4 separate regions of the Homo sapiens genome follow, and all the other regions are linked to region 3. The links are contacts of gene promoters, found by promoter capture Hi-C in blood cells and fetal thymus (Javierre and others, 2016). All regions are on one chromosome and are shown on one strand. The core of a region is centred on a gene start or on the middle of the fragment in contact, and the rest is flanking DNA. Distances in the headings are between cores, read along the strand shown.

The links. The method cuts DNA at HindIII sites, captures the fragments that hold promoters and counts their contacts. A CHiCAGO score of 5 or more calls a contact.
Region 1: a contact is called between a fragment that was not itself captured here and the fragment with the promoter of APEX2 in region 3, in 1 of 17 cell types (monocytes). The highest score is 5.1, in monocytes.
Region 2: a contact is called between a fragment that was not itself captured here and the fragment with the promoter of APEX2 in region 3, in 1 of 17 cell types (monocytes). The highest score is 6.5, in monocytes.
Region 4: a contact is called between a fragment that was not itself captured here and the fragment with the promoter of APEX2 in region 3, in 1 of 17 cell types (monocytes). The highest score is 9.0, in monocytes.

What each region holds. Positions count from the first base shown.
Region 1 is chrX:54,629,253-54,631,952 of GRCh38, forward strand. It overlaps a transcript of GNL3L not described here. Among named protein-coding and RNA genes, the nearest start is that of GNL3L, 100 kb to the left of the region's middle. The HindIII fragment of the contact is 2,875 bases long and covers 1-2,700 here.
Region 2 is chrX:54,515,102-54,517,878 of GRCh38, forward strand. No RefSeq gene overlaps it. Among named protein-coding and RNA genes, the nearest start is that of GNL3L, 14 kb to the right of the region's middle. The HindIII fragment of the contact is 7,138 bases long and covers 1-2,777 here.
Region 3 is chrX:54,999,028-55,001,946 of GRCh38, forward strand. APEX2 (apurinic/apyrimidinic endodeoxyribonuclease 2) reads left to right here and starts at 1,336. Exons shown (of 6, transcript NM_014481.4): 1 at 1,336-1,552; 2 at 2,519-2,602. The coding sequence starts at 1,396. RefSeq lists a silencer at 1,217-1,356. The HindIII fragment of the contact is 4,396 bases long and covers 1-2,051 here.
Region 4 is chrX:54,647,580-54,650,279 of GRCh38, forward strand. No RefSeq gene overlaps it. Among named protein-coding and RNA genes, the nearest start is that of GNL3L, 120 kb to the left of the region's middle. The HindIII fragment of the contact is 1,909 bases long and covers 491-2,399 here.

The DNA.
Region 1 (2,700 bases), core at 89-2,588, 370 kb before region 3:
ATTTCTTTCTCTTGTCTGATTGCTCTGGCTAGGACTTCAAGTACTATGTTGAATAGAAGTGGTGAAAGTGAGCATCCTTGCCTTGTTCCAGTTCTCAGAGAGAATGCTTTCAACTTTTCCCCATTCAGTGTAATGTGGGCTGTGGGTTTGTCATAGATGACTTTTATTACACTAAGGTATGTCCCTTGTATGCCGATTGTGCTGAGGTTTTAATAATAAAGGGATGCTGGATTTTGTCAAATGCTTTTTCTGTGTTTATTGAGATGATCATGTGATTTTTGTTTTTAATTCTCTTTATGTGTATTACATTTATTGACTTGTATATATTAAACTATCCCTGCATTCCTGGTATAAAACCCACTTGATCATGGTGGATTATCTTTTTGATATGCTGTTGGATTTGGTTAGCTAGTATTTTGTCAAGAATTTTTGCATCTATGTTCATCAGGGATATTGGTCTGTAGTTTTCTTTTTTGGTTATGTCCTCTCCTGGTTTTGGTATTAGGGTGATACTGGCTTCATAGAATGATTTAGGGAGGATTTCCTTTACTCTATCTTTTGCAATAGTTTCAGTAGGATTGGTACCAATTCTTTGACTGTCTGATCGAATTCAGCTGTGAATGCATTTGGTCCTCTACTTTTTTTTGTTGGCAATTTTTTATTTTCATTTCAATCTCACTGCTTGTTATCAGTCTATTCAGAGTTTATATTTCTTCCTGGTTTAATCTAGAAGGGTTGTATGTTTCCAGGTATTTATCCATTTCCTCTAAGTTTTCTAGTTTGTGCATGTAAAGGTGTTCATAGTAGCCTTGAATGATCTTTTGTATTTTTGTGGTATCAGTTGTAATATCTCCCTTTTCATTTCCAATTGAGCTTATTTGGATCTTCTGTCTTCTTTTCTCGGTGAATCTCATTAATGGTCTATCAATTTTGTTTATCTTTTCAAAGAACCAGCTTTTTGTTTCATTTATCTTTTGTATTTTTTTGTTAAAATTTTATTTAGTTCTGCTCTGATCTTTCTTACTTCTTTTCTTCTGCTGGGTTTGGGTTTGGTTTGTTCTTGTTTCTGTAGTTCCTTGAGGTGTGACCTTAGCTTATCTATTTGTGCTTTTTCTGACTTTTTGATGTAGGCATTTAATGCTATGAACTTTCCTCTTAGCACCACTTTTGCCATGTCCCAGAGGTTTTGATAGGTTGTGTCACTATTATTGTTCAGTTCAAAGAACATTTTAATTTCCATCTTGATTTCATTGTTGACTCAAAGATCATTTAGGAGCAGATTATTTAATTTCCATGTATTTGCATGGTTTTGAGGGTTCTTTTTGGAGTTGATTTCCAATTTTGTTCCACTGTAGTCTGAGAGAGTACTTGGTATAATTTCGATTTTCTTTTGTTTTCTTTTCTCCTTCTTTCCTTCCTTCCTTCCTTCCTTCCTTCCTTCCTTCCTTTCTTTCTTTTTCTTTCTTTCTTTCTTTCTTTCTTTCTTTCTCTTTCTTTCCCTTTCTTTCCCTTTCTTTCTTTCTCTTTCTTTCTTTCTTTCTTTCTTTTCTCTCTCTCTCTCTCTTTCTTTTTTGAGACAGAGTGTCACTTTGTCACCCAGGCTGGAGTGCAGGGCACAATATTGGCTCACTGTAACCTCTGCCTCCTGGGTTCAAGTGATTATCCTGCCTCAGCCTCCTGAGTAGCTGGGATTACAGGCGTCCATCACCACTCCCGGCTAATTTTTATATTTTTAATAGAGATGGGGTTTCACCATGTTAGCCAGGCTGGTCTCTAACTCCTGACCTCAGGCGATCCACCCGCCTCAGCCTTCTAAAGTGCTGGGATTACAGGCATGAGCCACCTCTCCTAGCCTAATTTCAATTTTCTTAAATGTATTGAGACTTGTTTTGTGGCCTATCATATGGTCTATCTTGGAGAATGTTTCATGTGCTGATGAATAGAATGTGTATTCTAAAGTTGTTGGGTAGAATGTTCTGTAAATATCTGTTAAATCCATTTGTTCAAGGGTATAGTTAAAGTACATTTTTTCTTTGTTGACTTTCTGTCTTGATGACCTGTCTAGTGCTGTCAGTGGAGTATCAAAGTCCCTCACTATTACTATGTTGCCATCTATCTCATTTCTTATCTAGTAGTATCTAACAAATACTACTAGGTCTAGTAGTAATTGTTTTATAAATTTGGGAGCACTTATATATAAAAGTGCATATATATTTGGGATTGTGATATTTTCCTGTTGGACTAGTCCTTTTATCATTATGTAATGTCCCTCTTTGTCTTTTTTAACTGTTTTTGCTTTAAAGTCTGTTTTGTCTGATATAAGAATAGCTACTCCTGCTCGCTTTTGGTGTTCTTTTGCATGGAATATCTTTTTCCAACCCTTTACCTTAAGTTTATGTGAAACCTTATGTGTTAGGTGAGTCTCTTGAAGACAGCAGGTACTTGATAGGTGAATTCTTATCCATTCTGCCATTCTGTATCTTTTAAGTGGAGCATCTAGGCCATTTACATTCAATGTTAGTATTGAGATGTGAGGTACTATTCTATTCATCATGCTGTTGTTGCCCGAATATCTTGTTTGTTTTTCCATTGTGTTATTGTTTTATAGGCCCTGTGAGATTTATGCTTTAAGGAGGTTCTATTTTTGGTGTATTTTGAGGTTTGGTTTCAAGATTTAGAACTCCTTATAGCAGTTCTTGC
Region 2 (2,777 bases), core at 237-2,736, 480 kb before region 3:
AATGGCAATAAAAACATTCCGTATCAGAATCCATGGATACAGCTAAAGCAGTGGTCAGCGGAAAGTTCATAGCCTTAAAATACTTACATTACAAACAAAAAAACTAAATGAATAAGCATCAGATTGAAAAAGTTAGAGAAAGACAAAACAAATACAGGGAAGCAGAAGGAATGAATTAACAAAAATAAAAGTTAAAATAAAGGAGTTAGAAAATAGATAACAGTAGGACTAATAAATGAGTGGGTTGATTCTGTAAAAAAGAATTATATAAGCTATTAGATAACATAATCAGGAAAAGGAGAAAGCACAAATATACAAAATAAATGAAAAGTTGCACATAACTATAGTAAGAAGACATTTTAAATATCACAAAACACAACTCTATAGAAATTGTTCAAAGAACTGAAGAAATGGATAATGTCCTAGGAAAATATAATTTACAAACTGACCCTAAAAGACAAGTCCATGTAGATCAATTTTCTTTTCTTTCTTTCTTTTTTTTTTTTGAGATGGCATTTCGCTCTTGTTGCCCAGGCTGGAGTGCAATGGCACGATCTCGGCTCACCGCAACCCCTGCCTCCCGGATTCAAGCGATTCTCCTGCCTCAGCTTCCCGAGTAGCTGGGATTATAGGCATGCACCACCAAGCCTGGATAATTTTGTATTTTTAATAGAGACAGGGTTTCTCCGTGTTGGTCAGGCTGGTCTTGAGCTCCCAACCTCATGTGATCCACCCGCCTCAGCCTCCCAAAGTTTTGGGATTACAGGCGTGAGCCACCGCGCCTGGCCTTGTAGCTCAATTTTCATGGAAATAGACAAAGTTATAAAGAGCTCCCCAATTCCTCAAAGCACCAGATAGAGCAAGATCCTTTCACAAGGGGAAGTCTTTTCACACTAAAAAGCAGATAATTCAAATACTATTCTTATTTTCCTGAGCCTAAGGAAGGAACACTTTAGAAATGTTTTTATCAAGTGAATAATAACACTGATACCAAGATCTGACAAAGATTCCACAAGAAAAAGAAAACCATATAGACTAATTCTCACTTAGGAATATCGGCACAATATCCTAAATATTAACAAATAGAATCCATGACTGTGTGGGTTTTAATTGCAGGAATGCAAGAATTGTTCAATATTAGGAAATCCATTAATATAATCTAACCTATTATTAGATCTAAGTAAAAAAATCCTATCATTTTATTCAGAGATACCAAAGAGTTGTTTGTCAAAACTCAACACCCATTCTTTTATTTTTCTTCTCCTTCAGTAACTTTGGTATCAATACCCATTCTTTATAAAAACATTCAATAAAAGAGGAATATGTGGTTTCTTCCCTGATATATATTTTATCTCATTCTCTATAGATAGATAGATCCCCCAAATCCAGCATTTCACTTAACCAGGAAATACCACCAGTATTTATATGCTAAAATCAGAAACCAACTAAGGGTACCTACTCTCTCCACTACAATTTAGCATTTTATTGGAGGTTGTCTGGGCACTGTGGCTCACGCCTGTAGTCCTAGCACTTTGGCAGGCCAGGGCAGGTGGATTGCTTGAGGCCAGGAGTTTGAGACCAGCCTGGCCAACATGGTAAAACCCCATCTCTACTAAAGTTACAAAAATTAGCTGGGTGTGGTAGTGCACACCTGTAATCCCAGCTACTCAGGAGGCTGGGGCATGAGAATCACTTGAGCCTGGGAAGTGGAGGTTGCAGTGAGCCAAGATCGTGCTACTGCCCTGTGGCCTGGGTGAGAGAGAGAGACTCTGTCTTAAAAACAAAAAAACAAAAAAAAATTGCATTGGAGGTAGTAATCATTACAATTAGAAAAGAGAAATAAATTAAATATACAATTGAAATGGAAGAAGTAAAGCTATCACCATTTATAGATGATCAGATTGTACAGCCACAAAACCCAAACAAACCAATAGAGAAACTACTACAAACAAGAGAATTCTGTAAGGTAGCAGGATATAAAATTAATATATAGAAATCATTCAGTTAGAAGATATATGGAAGAGAAGGCTCCATTTATTAGAGCAACAAAAAAGATAAAATACCTATAAACAACCTTAACAAGAAATGTCTAAAACCTTAATGAGAAACATTCATAACACTCTGAAGGAACTAATGGAAAGGCATGCCACGTTCTCAGATGGGAAGACTTAAAATCATAAAGATGTCAAATTAATTTATAAATTTAGTATAAGCCCATTATCATTTTTTGGCTGCGCACGGTGGCTCACGCCTGTAATTCCAGCACTTTGGGAGGCCGAGGTGGGCAGATCACGAGGTCAGGAGTTCGAGACCAGCCTGGCCAATATGGCGAAACCCTGTGTGTACTAAAAATACAAAAATTAGCTGGGTGTGGTGGTGGGCGCCTGTAATTCCAGCTACTTGGGAGGCTGAGGAAGAAGAATCGCTTGAAGCCAGCAGGCAGAGGTTGCAGAGAGCCGAGATCGCACCACTGCACTCCAGCCTGGGCGACAGAGCGAGACTCTGTTTCAAAAAAAAGCATATCATTTTTTTTTTTTCTGAAACTAGACAAGCTGATTCTAAGTTCATATGGAAAAATAACAAGCAAGCATAGCCAGCATATCTCTGAAAAGAAAGAACGATGATGGGGGACTACTGCCACAATAATGCTGTGTTGTAAACCAAAGTGAATAATTATGTACCAAAACTCAGACAGAGTCTATGGGTCAGCTGGGAGGTTCTATGATCTGGACTAGGCTGTGTTAATCTCAACTGGGCTAGCTTATGTGTCTGCACCC
Region 3 (2,919 bases), core at 86-2,585:
TTTGCTGTAACCATTGAGGATGATGGCTCTAAGACTTAAATTCTGGGGAACAAATAATTATGCTGCAATTCTGGGTGAGGAACCTAAAGATGCATCGTTATGCTTTTCCCTGGACATTGGGCATATCCATTACTTCTAATTTTTGTGCTCTCAAAAACAAGCCATGAACCTGTCGATGCTCTTGCTATTATCCTTTGTTCATTCATTCACCTGACAAATATCTATTGCTTCCCAACATATGCTGTGTCCAGTATTAGGGGATGGGGCTAACAAGATGAACCAGACATGGTCATTGCTCTCAAGTTGCTGGCATTCTAATGGCAGCAGAAATAGAAGTCAATGATAGCTGTGTATTATAAGTACTGTGACAGAATGGACCATAGGGTGCCGTGGGGCCCCAGAGGAAAAGACTTAACTGGGGAGGTGTGTGGTCAGTAAAAACACTCAGAAAAGTAATTATTGAGCTAATTAAGACAGGGTGTGAATCCTGGCTCTACTACTTCAGTGTAAGAGAGAGTGAACTGTGAGAATGAAATGAATTCATTCGACGTCTCTAACTTAGCCTCCATGTCCCGAACTGGGTTGTCTTGAGAATGAAATGAGATAACATATACAGAAGAGCCATGGATGCATCCGGAGACAATGCTGCTCACGAGCTTACATTTCCTGGGCTTCGATTTCACTTATCTGAGAAACAGAACCAAGAGTAAGGATGTGTCCGGCTACATCCTTCAGAATGTTAAGAGCCAAGACAAAAGCTACAGGGCAGGCTTGAGACAGCCTCCTCCTCCTCCCCTCTGCCCCAATAAAGCCAAAGGCCCTCCTCCTAAGTCTTATCTCAGTGGAGCGACTCTTACTGCTCCCTCCTCCAACCATGAACTTCCCTTTGCCCAGTCCAACGCGAGCACTTAGCGCCAGCTATTCCTGGGGCGCAAGCGCTGCAGCCATCTGTGAACTTAGGTGGGCGGTCCGCCGCACTGAGGGCGGGGCTTTGGCAGCTGAGCAGTTCCGCTCAGGGTTCCGTCGCTTAAAAAGTGGCAAAATGCCGTTTGTAAGTAACCGGACGCACCACTTGGACTTCTGAGTAGAGGAAAAACGCATTGAGACTCAGCTGTCCGAGCGGAAGGAGCGGGAGCCCAACTGGAAACTCCTCTCGCCATTCATTGCCCCTAGGCTTCCGCTTTGCTTCCTTCAGCGTCCACCCAGTTCCTCCTCCCGCCAATGAGAGCTGAGGAAGTTGAAGCCCCCGCCCGACGTGCGTCAGGCGCTTTAGTGGTACGCACGAGAACGCCTGCGCAAACGCGCGCGGGAGGCGGGCCTGGCCAACTTCTGAACAGGAAGCAGTTCGCTCGCGCCTAGGTTGGCGCGGGCTGGGAGGTGTTCCAGCCCTTTAAGATGTTGCGCGTGGTGAGCTGGAACATCAATGGGATTCGGAGACCCCTGCAAGGGGTGGCAAATCAGGAACCCAGCAACTGTGCCGCCGTGGCCGTGGGGCGCATTTTGGACGAGCTGGATGCGGATATCGTCTGTCTCCAGGAAACCAAAGTGACCAGTGAGCGCTCTGGATTCCAGGATCCCTACATACTTTTTCTTTCCCGCTAACTTTTGTCCCCTGTCCCATGTAATTTTACTTTCCCAGTTTCCTATTCTTAGAGTCCTGTCCTTAGACCCAGGTCCCTTCCCTCTTAAACTTCCATTTCCCACCCTAGCTAGATCCCCTAATTGCACTCCATCTCCTGTCTTCAGCAAACTTTAGCTCCTTCTCGAAACCCCATATCTAGTCAGATTCCCACTCATTCTCCGGCCCCAAACTCAGTCCCCTGAATTTCCTCCTTCCATACGCTGTCCATCTCCCCGCCGCCAAGTCAAACCCCCGAATTCTTCATCCCTGCCCCAAGCTCAGATCCTCTAATTCCCACCCCATCTTTGACCCCAGCTCAGTCTAATTTCCTCTTTTTCACATTTCCACCTCAGAACCCCAGTACCCCTTATCTATTCCCATCTCTCCTCCCAGCGGAAAGTCCCTAATTCCCACCTCATTTCCCACCCCAAGCTTAGATGTCCTCTTATTTCTTCACCCTCTTATCTCCCCTCAGAATCCCCTAATTCCTTTTCCCTCCACCCCCAGTTCAGATCCCCTAATTCCCTCTCTCTTACCTCTCACCCTTAGCTCAGATTCCCACCATCCTCTCGTATGTCCATCCCCATCCCCAGCTTCCTCCTATCGTTCAGACCCCCAGGCTTAGCTCTGATTCTTTCCCCTTCCCACCTAATTCTCCACCTCCACTTCATAGTCTCTAACCGCCCCCCACCAAGCCTTCTAATTCTGATATCAATTTCCTCTCTGACATTTCCCATCTTTCTAGGTCCTCCTCTAATCATGGATATTTCATTCCCGTCACCCCCAACTCTGGCTCTGATGTGTGCAAGGAATTAGCCTACAACTGTAATTCCAGGCCTTTGTGTTTCTCGGATGCTAGTTTTACCTCTGACTTAATCTTACATTTTTTTTTTCCAGGGGATGCACTGACAGAGCCCCTGGCTATCGTTGAGGGTTATAACTCCTATTTCAGCTTCAGCCGCAACCGTAGCGGCTATTCTGGTAAATGGGGCTTTCTGTGGACTTTAAATTAGTGAGGGAGGCAGATAGGGGAAAAGGGTTTCCAATATTTGATGAGAGGGTAATAAGAAATCTTAGACATTTAGTTTACAGAGCTAAAGCTGCATAATAGTAAATTACATGAAATATAATTTTTATGGATAGAATTATCCTACTGGACCTCAGAAGTACAGTAGTAGTGTGGTGCTTAATTGTGTGAACTGTGGAGCCAGACAGCCTGGGTTTGAATCATGGCTCATTTCCTAGCTGTGCACCCTCTGGCAAGTTACATTACCTCTTGGTGCCTCAGGTTCCTCAGC
Region 4 (2,700 bases), core at 195-2,694, 350 kb before region 3:
TAGCTGGGACTACAGGCACCCACCACCATGCCTGGCTAATTTTTGTATTTTTAGTAGAAACAGGGTTTTGCCATGTTGGCAAGGCTGGTCTTGAACTCCTGGCCTCAAGTGATCCTCCTGCCTCTGCCTCCCAAAGTGTTGGGATTACAGGCGTGAGCCACCGCGCCCGGCCTCATTGTTTTAATTTGCATTTCTCTGATGACATATGATGTTGAGCATTTTTTCATATGCTTGTTTGCCATCTGTGTATCTTTCTTGGTGAGTCATCTCTTCAGATCTTTTGTCCCAATTTTAATTGCTTCCTTTTTTTTATAGTTGAGTTTTAAGAGTTCTTTGTATATTTTGGATGTAAGTTCTTTATTAGAAGTATTTTGCAAGTATTTTTTCCTAGTCTGTGGCTTTTGTTTCATTTTCTTTACAGTGTCTTCCTGTGTCTATGGTTGAATATATGTTATTAATTTTGAAAAATTCTCAATCATTATTACTTCAAAGCTTTAGTTTGTCTCTTTCTCTATTTGCCTTTTGGTATTCCCAATATGCATATGTTACCCTTTTTGTAATTGTCCCACAGTTCTTGGATATTTTGTTTCATTTTTCTAATTCCTTTTTCTCTTTGTATTTCCATCTTGGAAATTTATATTGGCATATCTTCAAGCTCACTGATTCTTTCCTTGGCTAGGTCCAGTCTATTGATGTGCCCATCAAAGGAATTCTTTATTTCTCTTATGGTGTTTCTGATTTCTAGCATTTCCTTTTGATTTTTTTTCTTAGAGTGTCCATCTGCCTGCTTGCTTCACCTATCCATTTTTGCATATTGTCCACTTTTTCCATTAGAGCCCTTAGCATATTAACAGTAGTTAATCTAAAGTCCTGATCTGATAATTTCAAAATATCTGCCATATCTAAGTCAGGTTCTGATGCTCACTCTGTCCCTTCAAACTGTGTTTTATTTTTTAGTATGCCTTGTAATTTTTTTGTTTAAAGCTAGACATGATGCAATGGATAAAAGTAACTTGGTACTGGTTCCAGTGGTAGGCTTCTGCTCCAGTAAGCTGTGATTTTCTGTATTTGCTTATAGCTCCAATTTTTGGAGTAGCAGTTTGCCCTGTGACCTCAATGCCTTGATAGACCTAAGAAGAGTTGTTTAGTTTCAGCTTGTTCAGATTTTTTCTTATTGTGAGGACAGAGGCAACAACTTCCAAGCTCCTTCTGTGTTGGACTAAGAGTTCTTACTTATTTGTTATTTGTTAACATCGTTTATTTTAAAAACAGCTTTATTGAAGTATTATTTACATACATTTAACTGCACCCATTTAAAATGTGCAATTTCATCAGTTTTAATATATATATCATAAGACAATCACTATATTTAAGATAAAGAACATAATTATGCTGGGCGCAGTGGCTCACACCTGTAATCCCAGCACTTTGGAGGCCGAGGGGTGTGGATCACCTGAGGTCAGGAGTTTGAGACAAGCCTGGCCAACATGGTGAAAACCCGTCTCTACTAAAAATACAAAAATTAGCCAGGCATGGTGGCAGGTGCCTGTAGTCCCAGCTACTTGGGAGACTGAGGCACGAAAATCGCTTGAACCCAGGAGGTGGAGGTTGCAGTGAGCTGAGATCGTGCCACTGCACTCCAGCCTGTGCGACAGAGCCAGATTTCATCTAAAAAAAAAAAAAAGATAAAGAACATAATTATTATTTCTCAAAATTTCTTATTTCCCTTTGTAAATCTTTCCTCTTGCTCTACTACACTTTCCCAAGGTTTATTAATTTGTTTTCTGTTACAATAGACTAGTTTGCATTTTCTAGAGTTTTATAATCTGGATTTTTTCATTCAGTATAAATATTTTGAGATTAATTGAGTTTGTTGTGTGTATAAATAATTCATTTCTACATATTACTGAATAGTATTCCATTGTATGACCATACCAAATTTGTTTACCCATTCACTTGTGGATTGATATTTAGGTTGTTTCTAGCTTTTGATTATTACAAACACAGCTGTTATGAACAAGTGGACATTTGGTGGACATTTTGTGGACATTTGGTTATTTCTCTTGAATAAATTCCAAGGAGTAGAATGGCTTGTTTATATGGTAGGTGTATGTTTCATTTTTAAAGAAATTATAATTCTTACATATAAATACAACATTCTCCAAGATGGAGTACATGTTTGTCACAAGATGGGTCTTAACAACTTTAAGAAGATTGTTATCATACCAAATATCTTTTCTGACAATAGTGGAAGGAAATTACAACTCAGTAGCAGTGGGAAATCTGGAAAATTCACAAATATGTGGAAACTAAACAGCACATTTTTGAAAAACCAATGGGTCAAAGAAGAGATCCAAATTAGAAAATATCTTGAAACAAACAAAAATACAACATACCAAAGCTTATAGGATGCAGCAAAACCTATACTAAGAGGTAAGTTTATAAATACCTACATTAAAAAAGAAGAAAAGAAGAGGGACAGTACAAGATGGCAGAATAGAAGGCTCCACCAATAGTCCCCCATACAAGGACATGATTTAACAATTATCTATGCAAACAAAGTACTTTCAGTACTTTCAGTACTTTTCAGGTGAGTACTCACAGTACTCGATTTTAACATCACGTCACTGAAAGAGGCATGGAAGAGGGTAGGAAAGAGTCTTGAATTGCTGCTGCCACTTATCCCCCATCCCTTGGCAG